Regions from separate parts of the Homo sapiens genome. Here regions 2 and 3 are each linked to region 1. Evidence: promoter capture Hi-C in 16 types of primary human blood cells and fetal thymus (Javierre and others, 2016). All regions are on one chromosome and are shown on one strand. Each heading gives the region's core, a stretch centred on a gene start or on the middle of the fragment in contact. The rest is flanking DNA. Distances are from core to core; before and after follow the strand shown. Region 1 holds the start of PXDC1 (PX domain containing 1). Region 2 overlaps SLC22A23 (solute carrier family 22 member 23). Region 3 overlaps SLC22A23 (solute carrier family 22 member 23).

The links. The method cuts DNA at HindIII sites, captures the fragments that hold promoters and counts their contacts. A CHiCAGO score of 5 or more calls a contact.
Region 2: a contact is called between a fragment that was not itself captured here and the fragment with the promoter of PXDC1 in region 1, in 5 of 17 cell types (naive CD8 T cells, erythroblasts, naive B cells and 2 more). The highest score is 7.0, in naive CD8 T cells.
Region 3: a fragment that was not itself captured here is called in contact with the fragment with the promoter of PXDC1 in region 1 in 9 of 17 cell types (naive CD4 T cells, total CD4 T cells, total CD8 T cells and 6 more); the score reaches 7.1 in naive CD4 T cells.

Annotation. Positions count from the first base shown.
Region 1 is chr6:3,749,515-3,753,305 of GRCh38, reverse strand. It overlaps PXDC1 (PX domain containing 1), which reads left to right and starts at 1,593. Exons shown (of 5, transcript NM_183373.4): 1 at 1,593-2,030. The coding sequence starts at 1,775. RefSeq lists silencers at 1,080-1,249, 1,300-1,539, 2,290-2,369. The HindIII fragment of the contact is 5,359 bases long and covers 1-3,032 here.
Region 2 is chr6:3,268,834-3,272,624 of GRCh38, reverse strand. SLC22A23 (solute carrier family 22 member 23) reads left to right here. Exons shown (of 10, transcript NM_015482.2): 10 at 1-3,652. Among named protein-coding and RNA genes, the nearest start is that of PSMG4, 12 kb to the right of the region's middle. The HindIII fragment of the contact is 2,795 bases long and covers 253-3,047 here.
Region 3 is chr6:3,286,849-3,290,639 of GRCh38, reverse strand. SLC22A23 (solute carrier family 22 member 23) reads left to right here. Exons shown (of 10, transcript NM_015482.2): 6 at 774-876; 7 at 3,549-3,781. Among named protein-coding and RNA genes, the nearest start is that of PSMG4, 30 kb to the right of the region's middle. RefSeq lists an enhancer at 3,184-3,713. The HindIII fragment of the contact is 1,943 bases long and covers 662-2,604 here.

The DNA of each region.
Region 1 (3,791 bases), core at 344-2,843:
TCCCAGTCTTCTTCGTTCCAAGGAGACGAATAGTTGGTTCTGGATGTTTGTTAGAGATCAAATCTTTTTCTATGGTGCATGCCTGGGCTTTGTGACTTAAGAGTTTTTGGCTCTGTTATACCTGCAAGGTAACTCAACATTGTTACAAACAGAGTAAGCCCCGTTTGGGCTGGTACTGTGGTTACAACGGCACTTATTCCCACCACCTAGAGTCAAGAGCTGCTGGCACACTGGCTGTTTACTTCCAGTTCCCACGGCCCCTATTCCCCTATACAAAATTACACAGGAAACATATGCGTTCATTTAATTAGCAAGTGTATATAAAAACATCATAGACAAAGCAAAAGTCTCTCTTGACACTCTCCATCTTGACCTGTTCACCGCCCCAGACCAGGTGAGGAAATTTGAAGCTATGCTATCTGCAAGTCACTGGCGCAGTCGGAATAAAAGTTGGTCGTGGTGGGGGCGGGGGGGGGGTGGTCATCTGGGTCGGGACTGAGTCGAGGCAGGTGGGACTGAGTGGTAGGGACCTGGGGGGACATCTGGGTCGGGTCTGAGTCCAGACAGGCCACCTGCCTTGGGCCTCTAACATTTCCGCGCAGCGCTGGGCTTTGAGGCTTTCCAGAGCGCTGCCGGGGCGGGGGCGGGGTGAGGTGAGGGGCTCACCCTGGCTCTCCCACCCCTGCCTACGGGCTGTGAGGTCACTCGATTCATTTCTGGAACTAACTTGTAATTCTCAAACAAGTGCTATTAATTCTCTTCCAACTAGGAACGGCCTCAGTAACGCGCCGCTGAGTCAGTTTTCAGGGCGGGCGGTTTCCCCAAGTCCACTCCTGAGGCCCCTCAAGAGCACCCACCGCGTCCAGCTTCCCAGGGCGCTCCTTCCCAGGAGACCTTCTTTTCGCCACTGTTTTCTCCCCTCTTCCCACTTCTCCGAGGGCTGCCCCGCGGTCTGTCCGGCCGTGTCCCAGGCCTTGGCGCGGCTGAGGCATGACCGGAATGCGCGGGAGGACGCGGGGCACGGAGGGGACCTGAGGCACGGAGGGAACCCGGGGCGGGCCGGACTGGCCTGGGCCCTCGTCGGGGCGGTGCTCGACCCGGCCCGCGCCCCCCGCCCCGACACTCGCAGCCCCGCCTCCGGACCCCGGGTAGTTGCCATCCCCTCGCGGGCCGGGTGGGGCGCGCAGCTCCTAGCCCTGGGAGGTCCCGAGGATCGCGAAACGGAAAGAGAAAAAAGTCTGCGCCGAGCGCCTGGCAAGCAGGGCCCGCCCCGCCTCCCTTCCCGGCTGGTCCAGTCACCGACCTGCGGCTCCGGGGCCGCGAGGGAGGAGGCGCGGGGGGCGCGAGGCGGGGGCGAGCGCTTGGGACTCGGCCCGGCTCCCGGCTCCGGGGGTTCTCGTGGCCGCGGCAGCGCGGTCTCTGCGGAGGCGGCGGGGGCGCGGCCAGCCGGACCTCTTCCTTTCCAGAGCGGCCCGCGGCGCCCGTTCCGCGGGAGGCGGGCGGGAGGCGGACGCGGCCTAACCTCGACGTCGACTACCGCGCCGCCCGCGATGGGAAGCGCCTTATAAAGCCGCGCCCGGCCGGCCCGAGCCACTCGCCGCCGCGCCGCCCCGCTGCCCCGAACGCGGGCCATACGCAGCCTCCTTGGAGTGACGGGCCGACCCCGGACGACCCCGGCCACGGACAGACCCGGGACGACCCCGGCCGGGGCGCGCCTCCTGCGGGCGGGCGGGCGGCGGGGCTGGGGAGCCCTTGGCGGGGGCATGCGTGCGACATGGCCTCGGCGGTGTTTGAGGGCACGTCGCTCGTGAACATGTTCGTGCGCGGCTGCTGGGTGAACGGCATCCGCAGGCTCATCGTCAGCCGGCGCGGCGACGAAGAGGAGTTCTTCGAGATCCGCACGGAGTGGTCGGACCGCAGCGTGCTCTACCTGCACCGCAGCCTGGCGGACCTGGGCCGCCTGTGGCAGCGCCTGCGCGACGCCTTTCCCGAGGACCGGTCCGAACTGGCGCAGGGGCCGCTGCGGCAAGGTGCGGGGCCGGGGACGCGGGAGGGGCGCGGGGCCGAGGCAGCCTTGAAGTGCACGAAGGAGGCGGGGAAGAGACTTCAACCGAGATTGCGACTTCTCCTTTCTGCCCGCCCTGGACAGGGGACACTTGGACCCCGCGCCCGCAGACGAGGGGTGCCCGGGCGGCGGGGTTAGGGGGACGGGGAGCCAGCCTGCCCAGCCTGGGGGCGCCCCCGGCGGAGGAGCCAAATGGGGCGGGAAAGGGGCCGAGGCCGGCAGGGCGGGCGCCGGACTCTCCCTGAGGACGAGTCACTTCCGAGGAGGGCGGGGGCGCCCGGGGCTGAGCGGCTCACAGGGTCGGCCCGGCCCTAGCCCCCTGCCCGGTACCTCCCGAGGGCCGGCGGGCGGGCGCACTGGGAAAGCGTCTGGGAGCAGTTAACTGCAGGGTCCGAGCCGGGGGTCGCGTCGGGTCTGGCCGCCGCCCCGAGTTCTCCCCGCGGAGGGCGCGCCCCTGGTCTTCGAGCGCGAGGTGCCACGCAGCCCTTCCGTCCCTCCTCGGAGCGGCCGCCCCGCCCGCGGCTGCCGCGGACAGCCAGGGCCCCCCCGCACCCCCGCCAGGGCTGGTCCCCATTCGCGTTTGATCAGCTGCGCCGCCTCCTCCCCGGCCTCGTGACCGTCCTGGCTCGCGGGAATTCTTGTTTTCAGAAACCGCGGTGGCTTCCCTTTTCCTACCGCTCTGCCCGATCTTTCTTTTGGAGGCCAGGCTGAGGGGGTGGAAGCCGGGAGGACGCAAGAGAGAGGGACTGGAATTGAGACGGGAAGAATTGCGGGGTGGAGGGGGCAGGCCGAGGAGAGGGGCCGCCTGGGAGGGCCGGGAGGGGAGAAGGGGCGGGAAGACTGGAGGACTTCCGAGCAGGTCCCACCCCCCTCCATGGGTGACCACCTGTAGCTCGGAACATTGGGACAGTGGCCCAGCAGCCTTCTTTTCTGCAGTCCTCCTCTAAGCAGAGACCTCCTGAAAGCTTGGGGCCAAGTTACTGAAGCAGAAGGTGGCCCGTCCAAGTCTCCCCAGCCTCCTATCTGGCTGCGTTCTTGAGATAACCTGTGCTTTCCCCTGGCGATGGCCCCAACCCCAGTGTGAGAATTACGTGGATAATTAGCTTAGTTCTCATGACACATCTTTTGGAAGGGCTCCCACAGCCAGCGAGTTGGGGCCCTGAGCGAGAAGGCCCGCCTTTCAGGCCTCCCTCTGCTCCCCAGAGCCTCACATTTATAGCTGTTCTCCAGACAGTTGGGTGTTATTTCAAGCATGGAAGCAGTTTTCCTTGGATTTGCTGTTTGTTATGATATTTTAAATTTAACAAATCAATGCCCAAATCAGGAAAGCATCGTGAAGGAACAGCGGTTTATTCAATGACCTTTCCTGGAACGAGGCTTAAATACACTGGAGTCCCTGAGCTTCACTGTGGTCAGGCGTCTGAGCTCCGTGACCCCAGGCAGGCTGGTTGGAGCGGGATCCCCGTGGGGCTCCCCACCTGTAACTTTGTGCTTGTGGTCTCTGACGTTTGTGAGGACTGAAAGGCATGGTAGAGGGTCTAACAAGAGCAGGTTCTCCATAAATGCCAGTTGTCATTGTTACCGTCCCATCAGCTGCTTCTGGCTGGGGTTGGGCCAGACGGTGGAAAGAGGGCGTGGTTTCAGTTGCATCCACGCTGGTGGAAATACCTCACCTGGAGCAGGAGGGAGGGGCGTGCCCTGCACACACCCTGGCTCCGCCTCTTTT
Region 2 (3,791 bases), core at 401-2,900, 480 kb after region 1:
GTGCAGAGGCAGGAGAGGACCGTGGAGCGTTTCCGGGACTGCATTTTAGACGGAGTGAAATGTACATGAATTTGGCTTTTGCTAGAGTCTGTGTATGGTTTTTTAAGGTCCTTTTTCCCTTTCTGTTTGTAAGGTAAGAGCTTCTGTTCGTGTGCAGGGAAAGCAGCTCACAGACGCCGTTAAAACCAGCTTCATCTTTCCTTCAGGATCATCCTTTTGTACTTGATGCTGGAAGCTCTTGGAGAAAAAGCTTAAACATTTCACCAGAAATCTTAATTGAGCAGCAGTCATATCGCCACAGCTTTGTGAGTACACAGCTAACAGATGCGTCGAGACCTGAGATGTGCTCGTTTTTATTCCTCCTCTCCCAGATTGGCTCCAGCAGAAAAGTCCCTCGTGCACAGGCAGCTCTTGTGCCGGCACTACTTGAAAACATGGCTACTTTCTAAGCTACAAACCATTAGAAAATAACTCAAAAAGATGGCAGAGGCAAATCCACAGAAGGGGGGCTGCCCTCCACACACACACGCCCGTCACCCACACCTTGAGCACACACCATGAAGATCACCAGCTTGGATGGCCGTCACCTCAGACATCACTCCAGGGAGCACCCGCAGGAGCTGGGCCCCCTCACGCCTGCCTTCCTGGGCCAGCTTCCTGCTTGCAGTCACTCGCATAGCACAGAGGTGGGGCTTCGGGCAGGGAGCGGAGATTCCTCATAGGTGAGTCCAAATGACCTCCAGCCTCTCGAAGGCATCAAGACAAATTGAAAGAAAGCAATAACTCACCAAAGCTCAACGCTGCCCCTGCCTCGACCTCCATGGGTCTCTTCGTGTTCCTCGTTTCACCCCAGAAAGTGGAGGTTTCCTCTTGGCATTTTCGGAGGAAACTTGTAGGACACCCAAGGCGACTAAGAGACAGCCTCCTTGGCAAGGGCAGGCACCACTTTGTAGCAACTTGGGCACCAGCTTTTCTGGACAGCCTGGCTTCTTACTGGCATTGTCCAACTCATCCCTTCTCGAAGCATGTCTTTGCCATGGGCTGTGTCCTTCCAGGGAAATTGTGGTCTCGGGCCTGGGTGAGACAATGAAGTGACTTCCAACCGACAGTTGCTAGAATTCACAGGGCAGAAAAGGGGTTGACCTTCTCCCCTTCTGGCTTTCCACCCGGCCTGCTGCTTGCTGTCGCCACTCATGTCTCCTCCACATGCGGTCCACACATCAGTAAGGGCCTGGAGATGTGTAAAGACACAGCAAGGGGCAAGCAGACTCTTGGCCACGTGTTTCCAGTGGCTGGACCACGCCGACACCTGGGATCTTGAGATACCCAGGAAGGGAGGCTGTCTGGCCAGCCTCTCCCTGCCTCCACTTGCTCCACGTCCAGCTCCTCACCTTCCCTCTTTTTTAAAGTCACATTTCCATGTTTCAACATTAGTTTGCATTCACCTTTACAAAGGCCTTTCTTTAGATCTGTGCAGCCTTTGCGTGCCAAACTTGTGAAATTCCTTTTACCTTTTTTGGAGTACTTGCTATAAAGCCACCTGTCAACAAACCCCCATTATGTACAGAATAGGACCTATCCAGTAGCCAGGCCAGTAGGCAGTTGGGGAAGGTGGGAAGGATCCAGCGAGGCCCCTGAGCCTGCACCTGGACAGGTGTACGTCTGCACCCATCACCCTCAGCACCAGGCCACCCTGCAGTCCACTTACTGTACTGTGTTGTGGAAGGATATGCTAAGTGATGAAAGTTGCGAGCAGTCTCACTGGTCGTGTAAACTTTTTTTTTTTTTTGGAAATTGAAGCTGTAGAGTGCTGCCCGAAATCTCTAGGAAGTTGGTGGCAAGGGACAGCACTCACACTCTTCTGGTCATGATCTCTGATCTCCACCTCAAATGACAATAAAAAACTGGTCCAACGAAGACACTGCTCAGCACTTCAGCCATCAGGACTAATCCATCGATGACTGGAAAAGAGGCTAGCTTTGAGGAAAACAGCCTGGGCTCTTGGGAGCAGAGTCCAGTGGGTGTGAGGCTGACTTGCCGACGGTCGGCAGGTAATGGCTCTCAGCCGGCGAGGCGGTCCCACAGCTCTCCTCCCAGGGCAGCCTGAGGAGGAGGAGGCCGGGTGCCTGTTTGGTGGCAGCTTCAGCCTAGGGATACCTGAAGCTGTTGAGCAACACCTTTATGAAATGTTGCCAGAGCAGCAACACTTCCCTGTGGGCACAGCCCCGGGAAATCCGGTACCAAGTGAGCAAGGTGGCAGGACCCACCCAAGCCTGATACGCATCTGGGCCCGCCGGGCTCAGCAGGGGAGGCTGCTACGGCTGCCCACTTCCCAGCACCGTCTGTCACGCTTGAACCCCTCTGTGCTGTTCCCTTCCTGGCTAATAGGGAGACCCTTCGCAGGCACCCACTGTTTCAACTTGACCCTCCCACCCCCTGCTACTCTCCTCCACACACCCCTCCGTTCCGCTAGCCTACCCTGTCAGCCTTTCAATAAAAGTTATGCACAAATGTGAACACCTGAGATGGAGCTGAACATTTCTTCACTTTGTTCTTTTTCTGAAGTCAAACTCTTATCAAATGCCCTAAAATTATTACCACCCAAGAGAAACAGGAAAAAGGTTACATGTTTTTGTTTACTGAGAGTAAGATCACCTGCATCTGGAAGACGGGCTGGTAAATTGGTTTGGCTACAGAACAGAAAGAAAACAAAAACAAACCTCGTAAGGGAAGTATCACACTCAGACACCACCGCTTCCTAGAGCCAAATGAGCAATCCCAAACTGCAAGTGCCATAAGTGGGCCTGTGAGGTCACACCGCCCGGCCCGAGGTATCGCATGTGCGGGGGAGGTCCACACTACAGCTGTCCTCTCGTCTAGAAGGCACCACCTCGCTTTCATGTCCCGTGTGTTTTGGAAAAGCAGTATGGTGTGTCATGTCTAGCGGCGAACACTTCCCTCCCTGTCCTTGAGGTTGTAATATAAAAACTGTGTTTCTGTACGTGTGGGTGGGAATTCTCTGACGGTGCTCGTTCATAGCACAAGCTTACGCTGAGTTCTGAACTGTCGTTCACAGCTGCGTGTCTGCATGGTGTCGCATCTGTTGTACCTTTGGGGAAAATTTGTATGTAAATGTACAGAAATAAAAACGTTGCCCCATTAACAGATTTCCTCTGGAATGTCTTCCCTACCTCACCTGATGGTATCCACCGAAGGGCATTTCACTACCATTAATGGTGAGTAATAAAATCCTCCGTGTTCATTCAGACCTCACTGCGTCACTACTTTGAACGCCTCTGTAAGCTGTGTCTTCACTCGCCCCGAGGTGGGTGGAGGGAGGCCTCTCACTCTGCTTCGAGTCCTGGTCTTAAAGGTAGTCAGAGGCAGAGGCTGGATTAAACACACACTGTTTACCAAGTGCCACTCTCAGACCACCTGAGAGACGGGGGCCATCAGTAAAATTAAGAGGAATTTTTTTCCCTTGTTCGTGTATGTTCTGCTGATCCGTGGCCTGAAGGTTCCTAGAGACGTCAAGAAATGAATATCTTACACTGTGATTCTGTGAGGAAAGACTGGTAACCCAAAACTCTCTTCTCTAATGTATTTTTTAACGAAAATGACAATATTTCTTTAATAAAGTATTTATACCAAACTCTTCTCTCCATAGCCCTGATTTTGTGTCACTCGCTATTATATTTCTAGAGAGGTGTCCACTCAGCTTTGCAAGCTGCGACGAGGCTGGCCGGGGCCTCGAGGTTAGCACGGGAAGTCTGCAAAGGAGGGAAGCACCC
Region 3 (3,791 bases), core at 384-2,883, 460 kb after region 1:
GGTGGACTCCCTTCAGAGGGGCTTTCAGAGCCGCTGGAGCCGCACAAGAAACTCAGTCTCATGACTTTATAGTTGCTCACATCCCTTGGAGCCAAAATATTGTCCAGCCCCCAAGGACTTCTGTTAACTAAAACATGCACACGTATATGCATGCGTATGAATGTGTGCATGTATGGTGTATACACATACACGCAGATGTGTTCACTTATGTATTTGGCTTTCAAAGATGCATATGATGTCCTAAGGGCAGTTTCAGCAGAAGTAGCTACAGCCATAGTTCCACCCCACAAGGCTAAGAAGCATATCTGCATGTGGCCTTCCCAGTCTCCGAGCCGGGGGTGACACAGGCAGATGTAGAGTGTACGGAAAAGAACTGCATGTTTAGATTTGCCCAGGGCCTAATGAGTGCCTCAGTAACCTAGAATATCATCGCTGAGCTCTGTACTCAGACAAAAGTGAACTGAGTCGAGACCGTTTGTGTGCACTCTGACTGGTTCCAAAACAAGGGTTTGTGATGGAAACTTCTGCTGACGGTGCACCTTGGTGCCCTCTCAGGCACCCGAGCGAAACCTGAACTGCAAAGCTGGGGTCTTATGAGTGCCTTTCTATCCTGGAAACCTAGACCCTATCCACTGGCAAAAAAAAAAAAAAAAAAAAAGCTTCTCTCTCCCTTCTGTGGTACCCGAACTGGGGAACCAGGGCTGTGACTGCAGCTGCTGTCCTGTCCTCTGTGGGCGGCCTGCCCAGGGCTCACAGGGTCTGTTTCTTTGCAGAGCTGGAGAAAGAGCTTTCCCGGAGGCCCAAGAAGGTCTGCATCGTGAAGGTGGTGGGGACACGGAACCTGTGGAAGAACATTGTGGTCCTGTGTGTGAACTCGTGAGTCACAGAGGACAAGTGCCAGCTGGGTGGGAGGGGGCCAGGGAAGAAGGTGGGGAGTGGTGAAGCCCAGGGCCCTGCTCCCCACCCCGCTGAACTTGGAATCCTAAGGGTGTGTGTGTGAAGAGTGACACGGGCTAGAAGATATTGACCTCCCCCGCTCCCGGAAGCCTCAAGCAGCCGGTGCCCCCCAGCCCAGGCGTGTAAATCCTGTGAGCAGGGCCTCCCCACCACGTGCCCATGAGGTCCAGGAAACCAAGATGCACATGGACGCACCTCCTCAGGGGCACAGTGGGGGATGCCACAAGGCTGGAAATTCTGGGCCCTGTCTCAGGACAGGGGATTTGAGACCCATGAGGCCTTGGCCCCTGCCTGTAGCCGGCCCCGCCCTTCCTGAACCTGCAGCCAGCCTGGCCAAAGGCCCCAGGACAGCCGTGGGTGGAGGCAGGTGGGCCTGAGCCAGGCCAGTGAGCGCAGACCTCCTCCCAGGGCCCTCACCGGCCCAGGTCGCCCCGCCTGCTGGGTCCTGCAGGGGCTGGGGGCATCACTCACGCAGGTTCTTTGCAGCCCAGTCCCTGGACTTGGTGTGTACCTAGAAGGTCACTCCTGTCTTGAGCTCAGTGGCCCTGACTGTGCAAGGTGGTCCCTTGTTCAGGGTCAGAGGTCACCAAGGTGGCGGAGGGAAGGGATTTGACTCATTTGGGTTAGAGGTCACCTGGGGTGTTGCACTCATTTGTGAAAGGTCTCGAGCTGCCACCAGGTAAAGACAGGCCCAGGGTGAGGGCGAGGGGCCAAGCATCCCCCATGGCTTTTTCTGTCAAAGCAGCTCATCAGTTCTCCATATTGGGGTTCTGGGTTGAAATTGATTTGTGAGGAGTACAAGAGGCTCTACTGCCCAAACAACAGTAGAGCCTCATCCTGAGCTCAGGAGAGAGACCAAGGCCAGGGACCGGCCACGGCCACATCAGGCCAAGCCCAGGGCCTCAGCCTTGGCCACTCTGCTGCTGCCTGGTTCAGGTAGATGCTGGGTGAGCTGGCGGCACTGTTAGGAGTTGAACGGCTTCTCTACATTTTATGTTGGAAAAAAACATGAAATTTGACATAAGATGGTGAGTTTCCATTTTAATGATTCGTTTTGTGGAGACGGGGAACCGAGCTCTCTGGCTCTGTTATCTTCAGATGACCTGTTGTGGTCAGGGGAGACTTCATTTCTACCAGAGCAAGAAGGTAGGAGATTGCCCTGCTATCTCAGCAGGCCAGAAGAGGAACTCTGGAGGCTAACTGAACCAAATCAGTTGCTGGATTATAAAGCCATTGTGCGGGGGCTGGGGCCTCTGCCTATTTCCCAAGAGGAAAGGCATTCACCTGGCAAGGGGTGGCTTCCCCCTATGGGGCAGGGACGGGGTCTGTTACAGTTGACCTTGATGCATTCTCAAGGTTAGATGAGAAGGACGTAGATTTCCCTGAAGCACGAAAGGGTGTTTGGGGAGAGAAGGGGGCAGTTTTTGGCTCTGGGATGGTTGCCAAGAGCAGACATAAGAAGGGTCCCTCGAGGCACCACGGGTGCATCACAGGTACACCCCAAAGGTTCCTGAGAGCCCTGAGGCACCCCATGGATGGCCATCAGCAGCCTCCGTGGGAGGGTGCAGCCACGCCTTTGTTCCTGTTTTCAGGGCAGACACGTTTTTCCAGCAGGTTGATACGCTCGTGTGGGGCAATAAAGAAGCTTGACCCAGGGCAGTGGAGGGGAAACAGGGATAAATTAAGAATCAAAACGGAGGCCGGGTGCGGTGGCTCACACCTGTAATCCCAACACTTTGGGAAGCCAAGGCAGGCGGATCACTTGAGATCAGGAGTTCGAGGCCAGCCTGTCCAACATGGTGAAACCCTGTCTCTACCAAAAAATACAAAAATTAGCTGGGCATGGTGGCAGGTGCCTGTAATCCCAGCTACTTGGGAGGCTGAAGCAGGAGAATCACTTGAACCAGGGAGGGGGAGGTTGCAGTGAGCTGAGATCTTGCCACTGCACTCCAGCTTGGGTAGCAGAACACGGCTCTACTCAAAAACAAAACAAAACAAAAAAAAAAACAGTTTCCTGTGGACCCTATATGTCTTCCATTGGCCTGGCTTCTGCCCGACTCCTCCAGGCTGTGTGGGTGGAGTTGAGGCTGGTATGGATAGATCTCCACCCTTCCAGAACCCTAAGTGCCCAGAAAAGCTGCGTCTCTGAGTTGCCGCTTACCCGCCGAGAGCCTCGTGCGAGCTGCTCTGCCCCCCTGCCCCTGTGAAGTGGGTGTGCAGTGGCTGTTGGATTGCGGCCCTGGGTTAAATGAGTCAGTACCTGGAAAGCGCTTTGTCTTGGAGGATTCCCATGAAAGTGTGTGTTTTAACAAAAGGACTCACTGCTCTTGTGCCCACACCTGTCTATTAAAGCCATGGTAGTGGGGCATGAGCCTGGACCTCCATCAGGAGAAGCATTCCATATTTCTCCCACGTCTCCTCTTTTGCATTGGCTCTGTAATCTGCTCGTGGTTCGGTCATGATGGGCTTTTCTATGACACATTGAGTTGCTTCTTCATCTCCTGGTCACCTGACAGCACGAACTCCCAGGAGGCAGCGCAGCCCCTGGCATGGGGGCAGCCCACCCACTGCCGCTCGGTATGTCTCCACAGGCTGACGGGGTACGGGATCCACCACTGCTTTGCCAGGAGCATGATGGGCCACGAGGTGAAGGTGCCGCTCCTGGAGAACTTCTATGCTGACTACTATACCACGGCCAGCATCGCGCTGGTGTCCTGCCTGGCCATGTGCGTGGTGGTCCGATTCCTCGGGCGCAGGGGAGGGCTGCTGCTCTTCATGATCCTCACCGCCCTGGCCTCACTCCTGCAGCTCGGCCTCCTCAACCGTGAGTGGGT